2 separate regions of the Homo sapiens genome follow, and region 2 is linked to region 1. The links are contacts of gene promoters, found by promoter capture Hi-C in human tissues and cell types (Jung and others, 2019). All regions are on one chromosome and are shown on one strand. The core of a region is centred on a gene start or on the middle of the fragment in contact, and the rest is flanking DNA. Distances in the headings are between cores, read along the strand shown. Region 1 holds the start of LAMC3 (laminin subunit gamma 3). Region 2 has its middle 7.0 kb from the start of NTNG2.

Region 1 (5,463 bases), core at 172-2,671:
AATACCTGAAGTTGACCAGAAGACCCAAGATCAGGAGCCCCTGCCCTAGAGGGTGACCAATTCAGTCCTTGGTGTGTCACCTCCCCAACAGTTCTGGTCTAGGATGGAAAACCATTACAGGGGATTATAATTGCAACCTAGAACCAAAGCTCAGCAAGTGACTCCCTGCCTCTCCCGCCCCACGGGGCACCCCTCAGTCTATCCTTCTGGCTATCTAGGGGTACAGGTCCTGTTTTTTTTTCTTCTTTTTTTCATTCTTTCTTTTTATTAAGAGATAAGGTCTCACTCTGTAGCCCAGGCTGTAGCACAGTGGCACTATCATATTTCATGCAGCCTCAACCTCTCAGTCTTAAGTGATCCTCCTGCCTCAGCCTCTTGAGTAGCTGGGACCATAGGTGTGCACCACCACGCCCAGCTTTTTTTTTTTTTTTTTTTTTTTTTTGAGACGGAGTTAGCTCTGTTGCCCAGGCTGGAGAACGGTGGTGCGACCTCGGCTCACGGCAACCTCCACCTCCCGGGTTCAAGCGATTCTCCTGCCCCAGCCTCCTGAGTAGCTGGAACTACAGGCACCTACCACCACGCCCGGCCAAATTTTCTATTTTTAGTAGAGACGGGTTTTCACCATGTTGGCCAGGCTGGTCTCGAACTCCTGACCTCAGGTGATCCGCCCGCCTCGGCCTCCCAAAGTGCTGGGATTACAGACGTCAGCCACCGCGCCCGGCCTATTTTTCTTTATTTTTTGTAAAGATGGGATCTCACTACGTTGCCCAGGCTGATCTTGAACTCCTGGGCTCAAGCGACCCTCCCATCTCGGCCTCCCAAAGTGCTGGGATTTCAGGAGTGAGCCACCGCACCCAGCCTAATTCCTATTTCTGAGCCCCTCCATCCAACACCATATCTGGGTCCTGCAGCCCAACCTGGGCGCACAGCAGCTCAGGCCTCAGCCTCAGACCCCCAGTGGAGTGGGGACACGGGGTGCGGTGGCGGTGCCCCCAGCCCGCGCTTACCTAGGCGGAGGGTGATGTTGACCGAGGTGGGGTACTGCACGCCGAAGGCCATGGACGGGCTCTGCCACCAGGTGCTCTCGTCCTGGCTGTGGAAGTCGGTGAGGTAGGAGGCGTTGTGGTGGCGCTGGGGGTCGGCGGCGTCGCAGCGCTGGCAATGAGCCCCCGCGCCCGCGGCGCCCACGTGGGGACAGAAGTCCTCGGGCGGGCTGCCGCACGTGTGCGAGGCCTGGGCGAGCCGCCCAAACGCCGCGTTCTCGAACACCGGCAGGCAGCGCTGCGGGCGCCCTGCGCCGTCATAGCACGCGCCCATGCCCGCGCCGGCCGCCCGCGGTGCCAGCAGCGCCAGCCCCAGCAGAAGCGCAGCCGCCGCCATGGTCAAGGGCACCGACGCCGCGCGCTCTGCCGGCCCCGCTCGGCTAGGGTGGGCGCGGACCGCGCGCTGGCCGCCAGGACCCGCCTTCCCCTGCGGGGCGGGGAGGCTGGAGGGAGGGGCGGGCGGCGGCGGCCCCACCCCACTAAAAATACCAGGGACCGCGCCGTCCCCGGGCGCCCACTCCCACCTGCTGGACGTGCCCGGCAGTGCGCGGCTCGGGAGTCTGCCCCAGAGGCGACCCGGGCCTCTTTGAGCCTCAGTTTCCTCGTCTGTGGAGTGGGGTCGGTAAAGATGCAGGCTCATTCTCGCCATTGGGAGGCTTCAATGGCTGCTCATTAAACAGAAACTGTTCAGCAGTGCCTTGGAGTCCTGAGATAAAAGGGGACAAGAGGATCTATCTCTAACTGATCGCTACCGTTTGCGCATCTCCTCCTAGCAATAAAGTGTGCCCTGGACAGGGTTGTGAGATGGCTCCGCATAGCTCCTGTCGCCCTTAACCCTGAAAAGCACTCCTGCTGCCGGCTGCGCTCTGTCCCCACAGCAAAGAGATTCTAACCTGACATTTGTGACAAGGGTACCTGGTCTTATCACAAATGTCACCTCAGAGAGGGCTTCCTTGTCTTCTGCCCCAACCCCCATAAATGCCCCCTTTACTCCCCATTTATTAACATTAGCAAATCGAGGGAGAGAAGTCATTCGATAAAATTTAGCAGCCAGGTCGTGCGCGGTGGCTCACGCCTGTAATCCTAGCACTTTGGGAGGTGGAGGCGGAAGGATAACTTGAGGCCAGGAGTTCGAGACCAACCTGGGCAAAATAGTGAGACCCTATCTCTACAAAAAAATACAAAAATTAGCCCGGCGTCATGGCACAAGCCTGTAGTCCCAGCTACCTGGGAGGCTGAGGTGGAAGGATCCCTTGAGCCCGGGAGGTTAGGCTGCAGTGGGCTGTGATCATGCCATTGCACTCCAGCCTGGCCAACAGAGTCAGACCCTGTCTCGAAAAAAAAAAAAAAAAAAAGGCAGCCATTCCCAGACGAACTCTAAGGAAAATAGAAATAAATTTCCTGGCCTGGCGCGGTGGCTCTCGCCTATAATCCCAGCATTTTGGGAAGTTGAGGAAGGCAGATCACCTGAGGTCAGGAGTTCGAGACCAGCCTGGCCAACATAGTGAAACCCCGTCTCTACTAAAAACACAAAAATTAGCTGGGTGTGGCGGTGCGTGCCTGTAATCCCAGCTACTCAGGAGGCTGAGGCAGGAGAATTGTTTGAACCCGGGGGGCAGAAGTTGCAGTGAACTGAGATCATGCCATTGCACTCCAGCCTGGGCAACAAGAGAGAAACTCCATCAAAAAAAAAAAAAAGAAAGAAAAGAAAGAAAGAAAATTTTTGGAAGCAAGATGAACTGTAGTGGGCTGATTCACTACCAGTTATTTACACATGATTAAAACAATACGGTTGTGGAAAGGACTACAGAATAGACCCATGGAATAAGTTAGAGATTTCAGAACTATATCTAAGTAGAGTTAGTATATGATATCACCACTGGTACCTAAGGTTATTTTGGAAGTTCTAGCTAATACAATAAGACAAAAAACTTAAAAGATATAAATATTTATATCTTCTACTTACCTGAACATACATCTAGAAAATCTAAAAGATTCTACTAAGACTATTAAAATTAATAAGAGCTCCGTAAGATGGCTGACTACAGGATAGAGTACGAAAACCAATGCCAGCAATAGGCATTTTCTGGCTGGGTGCGGTGGCTCACGCCTGTAATCCCAGCACTTTGGGAGGCTGAGGCAGGCAGATCACCTGAGGTCATGAGTTCGAGACCAGCCTGGGCAATATGGTGAAACCCCATCTCCACTAAAAATACAAAAATTAGCCAGGCATTGTGGCACACCTGTAATCCCAGCTACTTGGAAGGCTGAGGCACAAGAATCGCTTGAATTCAGGAGACAGAGGTTGCAGTGAGCCGAGGTCACGCAAATGCACTCCAGCCTATGCAATAGAGCAAGACCCTGTTTTTTAAAAAACAAAACAAAAACAAAACAAAACAAACAAAAAACTGATGCCAGCAATGATGTAGGAAATGGTAGAACACCTAATAATAAATCTGGTATGAAATGTGCAAGATATAAATGAATCAAATTATAAAATGCTACTGAGAGACAGAAAACCTGAAGAGACCAGCATCTATATTCACGGATTTCCAACTGTTTAAATATACAAATTCTCCCCAAGTTAAAATATCATTTAATGTAATTCCAAATTGTTTTTTTGATGGTGTTATGGAAGCTTCTTTGTTAAAGTTTTCTCTTATGGTCAAGAACATGATTGCAGCAGACTCTTGATGGTCCACGCAGCTACCCTGAGCTGGGCTGTGCACCCATCCAAAGCAAATTCATCTATCAGGCACAGGAAACATGGCAGCCCACAGGAATTCTAGGAACCCACAAAAACTGTTCTAATATCTTTAAAGTCAGAAGAAAAAAAAGAACTTTTAGGCTGAAGAACATGTTTTAACGTATGATATTAATATACCCGTCTTTAGATCAATGCAATGGTTAAATATAATTTTTAAAAATGTTAGTGCCAGGCACGGTGGCTCATACCTGTGATCCCAGCACATTGGGAGGCTAAGGCGGGTAGATCGCTGGAGCTCAGGAGTTTGAGGCCAGGCTGGGCAACATGGTGAGACCTCGTCTCTACTAAAAATACAAAAAATTACCCGGGCATGGTGGCATACACCTGTGGTCCCAGCTGCTTGGGAGGCTGAGGTGGGAGAATTGCTTGAGCCCAGGGGGCGAAGGTTGCAGTGAGCCAAGATCACGCCACTGCACTCCAGCCTGGGTGACAGAGGGAGGCCCTGTCTCAAAAAAAAAAAAAAAAATTATAATTGTGGTAAAATACATATAACATATTTATAAAATTTACGATCTTAACCACTTTTAAGTTACAATTAAATAATATTAAGCACATTCACATTGTTGTGCAACCATCACCACCATCCATCTCCAGACCTTTTTTTTTTTTTTTTTGAGATGGAGTCTTGCTCTGTCACCTAAGCTAGAGTGCAGTGGCGCCATCTTGGCTCACTGCAACCTCTGCCTCCCAGGTTCAGGCAATTCTCCTGCCTCAGCCTCCCTGGTAGCTGGGATTACAGGCACCTGCCACCATGCCCAGCTAATTTTTTTATTTTAGAGACTGGGTTTCACTATGTTGGCCAGGCTGGTCTCGAACTCCTGACCTCAAGTGATCCTCCTGCCTCAGCCTCCCAAAGTGCTGAGATTACAGACGTGGGCCACTGCACACGGCCTCCAGAACTTTTTATCTTGCAAAACTGAAACTCTGTCCTCTTAAACAATAACTCTCTATAACCTTCTCCCCTCGGTAAAATAGAATTTTTAATATTTTTTAATAAATAAAGGAGCCCGCTAAGGCAAAACTGCCCAGGGTCCAGGAAAGTCATAAAGTGTCCATGATAATGTTAGAAATGCTTGTTCCTCGGTGCCATAAAGAAATACCACTTGAACATAAATTTAATTTCTTCAGCAAGGCTATTTTTACTTTGTGCAGAAAGGGTACACTCGCCAGCAGTTTTGCCACTAGAGTACACTGAACAAAGGAGACAGGGTCATTTATAACCTGACACGTCTACTTTACTGCTGTGTCCAGTTTCCATTGGCTGGAACGGGACTTCACATTCTGTATTTGTCCTGATTGGCTAGCAACTTAGAACTTTTTAAAAGAGGCAAAGGTGGAGGAGAACAAAGGAAGGAGGAAGAAATTTGTGGAGTGCTGAGAAAGGTAAAAACACTTCTAAGTAAGGAAGAGGAATAGGTTATGACCTAATGCCTGCTTGGACCAGTATAAGCATGCCAGGGCAAATATTTAGGCTAAATTGTGGGAGCTAAGAACATAAAGTACATTGATTTCTTTATTACGGCTAGCAGATATTTAAGAATGTTAGCACAGGTCTTTGAATAAATTTTGCTTCTGAGAGAAGTTACCATTTATTCTTAATTAGATGGGGAGGAGAGTCTCTTTGAAGAGGAACCTCTACTTTACTTTTTACAG
Region 2 (4,860 bases), core at 1,330-3,829, 1.1 Mb before region 1:
GAGCACTTAATACAGTCACAGTTGAAATTTGGGGCTTCAGAGTCAAGCAGCCCTGGGGTCCCATTCCCGGCTATGTGACTCACCTTGCCAAGGCTCATTTGTTTCACCTGGAAAATGGAGGTTAGAATGGTCTCCAATACCTAGGCTTGGTCTAAGGATTTAGTGAACTAATGCTTGAAATCGATTTGGCTTCTAGAAAGTGCTTAACACAAGGTGGCTCTGGTATTACACACTCAGGCACCAAGCACAGCAGTTTACTACAATCTCCAATTTCTGCTTTAACCACCGTTCTGTGAAAGAGACTCTTATCCTGGCCATTCTTCAGACGAGAATACCAAGGTTGAAGGATGTGTCCTAGGTTATTCCGGGAAGGCAGGGCTCCTATTTGAATACAGGCCTCATGGCTGGGCTCGCTGATATATGGTCTCAGTCCCAAGCTTATCATTCCAAGATTGTTTCTTCCCAACAGCCCTGGGAGGGAACCGGCATCGCAGTCTCCACTTGCCAGCAAAAGATACAGGGACTAGCTGGGCGCGGTGGCTCACGCCTGTAATCCCAGCACTTTGGGAGGCTGATGCAGGTGGATCGCTGGAGGTCAGGAGCTTGAGACCAGCCTGGCCAACATGGTGAAACCCTGTCTCTACTAAAAATACAAAAATTAGCCAGGCGTGGTGGTGGTGCGTGCCTGTAGTCCCAGCTACCTGGGAGGCTGAGGCATGAGAATCGCTCGAACCTGGGAGGTGGAGGTTGCAGTGAGCTGAGACTGAATCGCACCACTGCACTCCAGCCTGGGTGACAGAGCCAAAAAAAAAAAAAAAAAAAAAAAAAGATACAGGGACTGGGAGCTGGGAGTGAGTTGGTGCCTTCTCCAGGTTTCATGGCAAGTGAGCCCTGGGCAGGTGAGAACAGCCCCTGTGGACTGGGTGGAAATACTACTGTGCCACTGTGCCTTTGTCTGCAAAGTTTCTTCCACCAGAAGCCTGGCTGGGATCCCTCCAATCCGTGAGTTCCCATGGAAATGTCTCTTTCCCGAGTTCCAGCAGCATGACAGGGAGAGGAAAGCAGCAAAGCTTAGCCCAGAAGAGCCCAGGCTCCTCCAGGCAAAGCTGCTCAGCTCCCTGGCGAGGGGTGGCTGCTGTGAGAAGGAAGCCCACCTCCTCCACACTCCATGGAGCAGCAGACAGCCAGGCAGGCAGCCGGTCTCTCGTCTGGAAGCCCCAGAGGCAGGACCCATCGCTGCTCACTGCCATAAATTCCGGAGTCCCTGAGGACTCCTCAGTCTCAGGAGACAGGATGCAAAGGAGCATTGGCACCCCTTTTTCAGTGAGAGCGGGTAACTGCCCAGCCCTGCCAGCTTCGAGCTCAGGGGGCATCTTCTGGGCAATTGTGGCCTACCCACTGAGTACCTACTGTGGGCCAGCATCCCCCAGCCCTGGGGATGCCCATGGTGACAGATCCACTGGGTCCTGCCTTTGGGGTGCAGCAAGTCTAGTGGGATTATTCACATCTCATGGACCAGGCTGCCTGTGCACCTCACAAAGGTTGTCTGAGCACCTACTATGTGCCAGACACAGGCCAAACCAGGGAGGCGGTGCAGTCTGAGGAAGTGTGAGTGGGTATGTGTATGCCTATGCACACACATGCATGCAGGCATGTGGCAGTATTGCCAAAAACACTAGACAACACAAAGTCAATGGTGGAGGCGAGTCCTACCTCTCAGGATAGGAGACAAGGAAAGCTCAAACTAGGAGCGCCAAGAGCAATCCCCAGGCTTGGTGGGAACCCAGACCTCCACTCCCACCTCTCTGGGCCTCAGTTCCTCACCTGTCAAGTGGTGATAGTCATGGCACCTACCTCCTGGGATTGTTGGACGGATTCACTGAGAAAATGTGTAGGAATTATTTCAGGTAGTAGATGATCAAGAAATGTCGGCTCTGATTAGTCGTCATTGGCCGAGTCTCTCCTCTGGCCAAGGCTCTCTGTTCCACGATGATGGGGAGTCCAGGGGAACATTGCTCCGTGTCAGAAGAGTAATGGGGTTAGACTAACCAGTGTCACCTGGCCATCAAGCCTGGGAAATAAATGGAAACACCAGCCCCAGCTCTCCTCCCAGCCACAGTGTCTCTTTTCACATATGAACAATTCAGAATCTGCTCTTGAATCCGAATCCGAATTTCCACCCTCATCCCACCCATTCCTCTCCTGCTTTTGGGACAGTTTCTCCCGACTCCCAATGTGGGGAGCAGGAGAAGTTGTGGAAGGAGCCGCAGCTGGCCGAGTCATGGAATCTTTCTCCTGGGTCTGCCTCATCCTCTCGCCAGGTGTGCAGGCTTCTCACAGCCTCCCGCTCGGGGCAGCAGGGGCGTGTGGAGGTGATTGAGAAGAGGTTTGCATCAGCAAGGAGAGCAGGAGCTGAGGAAAGGCTGCAATCAGAAGGGAAAATGCATTATCAGCAGGAGGAAGCTGCCTCCCCCTCCCACCCGGCGACTCCTCCCCTAGAGGAAAACATCTTTCTTCCTTATTGGGCAGGGGATCTGGGCCTCCAGGACAGCAAAGCAGATGTGGCCTTCCTCTCAGACATGTGCTGATCACTAAATAATTGACCCACTTATAGAACTACCTGCTCTGTGCCTCAGCCCTCTGCCTCCCACTGCCCCGGGGAGCTCACCAACCCTGCAGCGGCCTTCAGAGCACTGCACCCCCACACCCTGCTCGCTTGATCATTGTCGTCGTTCAAAAAGAGCCCCATGTAGGCCCCACCCCAAAAGCACCCATTTGCAACCATGCAAAGTCCTACACAGATGAACGACAGCTGTAGGCAAGCTGGGCGCAGCGATCTTTGTAACGAAAGGCAGCTGAAAATTCTGAAAGACGACCCACAGCAAGAGAAACTGATCAACAGAGGAGTATTCCCTGGCTGCCTCCTTCCTGATCTCACGTGCACATTCACACATGCTCTGTTGTGTGCAACCATTTCCTCATTAAGTTGTCACCATTGGCATACAAACTCTTGGTCCATCAAAGCACTGAATTCTGAGTCCTGTGACCTTGGCCCTGGCCCTTGTTCTGAATCCTGCCAAAAGGAAACACAGTGATGTTTCCCCAAACATCCCCACATCTGTGCTTTCCAGCAGTCCAGGCTGTAAGACACGGTGAGACAGGGTCCCTCTCTCTTCCTCGTCCTGCCTCCCTCTTGGTCGATCTTTTCTATTCAAAGGAAGGCCTTGGGATCAGGGCTCCCTAGAAGGTGGCAGGTACCATCGCTCACAAAGTCAACTCCTGATCTTGGGAACCAGCTTGGATTTCTTGTTTCATGACACTCGACCTAATGGATGGAGACAGCTCCAGCTGCCACTGGTCTCTCACTCCGTGGACTTGGCTGGCCATTGCCCGCGACCTCTAGGATGTCCACACTTAGCCCATGCTGCCCCCATTTCTGGGGGTGGGACTCCTCCCCCTCCTGGAGGTCCCGGTGAGTTGTCGGCCCTGGAGATTCCTCACAGAGTCTTCTGCCTCCCATCCCTACCCTTCACTCCTTTTTCACTGGGTTCATTTTTTTTTTTTTACTGGTGGAGTAAACACAGACGTGCAGGCTGGGAGGGAAAAGCAGCCAGGGTCACTTGGCCACATGCTTTGCTTTTTGCGTCACCTGGGAGTTGGAGGGACATGGCTTCTCACATTCAAAAGGACTCCCAGGAGATTTTTCTTTTGAATCTGGGAAAACAAAAGTTCTGGGCCCGACTTCCTCTCTTGGTTCTGCTGGTTCTGGAGTCCAACTTGGCTGCACGACGCAGTTCTGTGGTTATCTGGCCCACTCCCTTCCCTGCCCTGCCCAGAGGCTCCTCCAGGACCCCTCTCTGTAGTTCTGATGACCCCAGCTTCTTTCACTGCTTTTGGAGATCACCTTGAGGCCGATGGGACTCTGAGCCAAGCACGTGTGGCGTGGTCACCTGGGGATGCTGAGACGGCCCCAGGATGGTCCTCCAGTGGCCTATATGATGGTCTTTGGCCACATTCGCGGTAAGCTTGACATTTATGAGCCTGGCCTCAGAACCTGACAGCCCGGGCTGAGAGTCCCTGTGCTGCCACTTATGTGTTTGGGCACGCCTTCTCACCTCAATTTTCCATCTGTACAATGGGCACAACAGCACCACCTCTCAGGGTTGTCGTGAGAAGTTAAGAATGCAATGATGAGTGCAGAGTGCTCAGAGGGGTGTAGGAGCCCCACATGTGATCAGCCTGCCGGCAGCAGGTGAACCCTTGACCCTGGAAAGTGTCCCCAGCCTGAGCAGAAGGGCCTCCCCTTACCTAGCACAGCCTTTGGGCCTCTAGCAACAGGGAGTGCTCACCCCACCTCAAAGGGGGAAAGGCCACCTTTGGCTTTGAATTCATAAGATGGTGAACTAGGGCGACATTAGAAGGCAAAGAAAATATACTTTCCTGTCAAATAGAGGGATATATCCCTGAACTCCTGTTCAAATGAACTCATTCTCTGAGGTCAGCTTACAACACCCATTCACTGTGCAGCCAAAAGCACCACCTCTCTCTTCCAAACCCCTACTCGCGCCCCACATAACAGAACATGTGCCAGACCTGGAAGCGGGGGCTCTTCCTTGTCCCTCCTTACAGATAGGGAAACTGAGGCTCTGAAAGGTGAAACAACTTGATCCAAGTCCTACACCAGGATCCAAACACATGCCTGTGACCCCACGGCCAGTGCCTTGACCCTTCCCCGCCCACATTTCTCAGAATTTCTTGCCCCAATTCTGTCCCCTGAAAGCTTTGGGACTGTAGCTGAGTCCCTGACTCCATTTCTGGGGTTCAAGATCTTCATCCATCAAGGGAGGAGTTTGAGCTGGT

What was found. The method cuts DNA at HindIII sites, captures the fragments that hold promoters and counts their contacts. A contact is called where the count stands out against the background at its distance.
Region 2: a fragment that was not itself captured here is called in contact with the fragment with the promoter of LAMC3 in region 1 in 1 of the 25 tissues and cell types used here (liver).

The regions. Positions count from the first base shown.
Region 1 is chr9:131,005,132-131,010,594 of GRCh38, reverse strand. It overlaps LAMC3 (laminin subunit gamma 3), which reads right to left and starts at 1,421. Exons shown (of 28, transcript NM_006059.4): 1 at 1,008-1,421. The coding sequence starts at 1,380. The HindIII fragment of the contact is 10,117 bases long and covers 1-5,463 here.
Region 2 is chr9:132,152,627-132,157,486 of GRCh38, reverse strand. No RefSeq gene overlaps it. Among named protein-coding and RNA genes, the nearest start is that of NTNG2, 7.0 kb to the left of the region's middle. RefSeq lists an enhancer at 2,514-3,014. The HindIII fragment of the contact is 3,649 bases long and covers 755-4,403 here.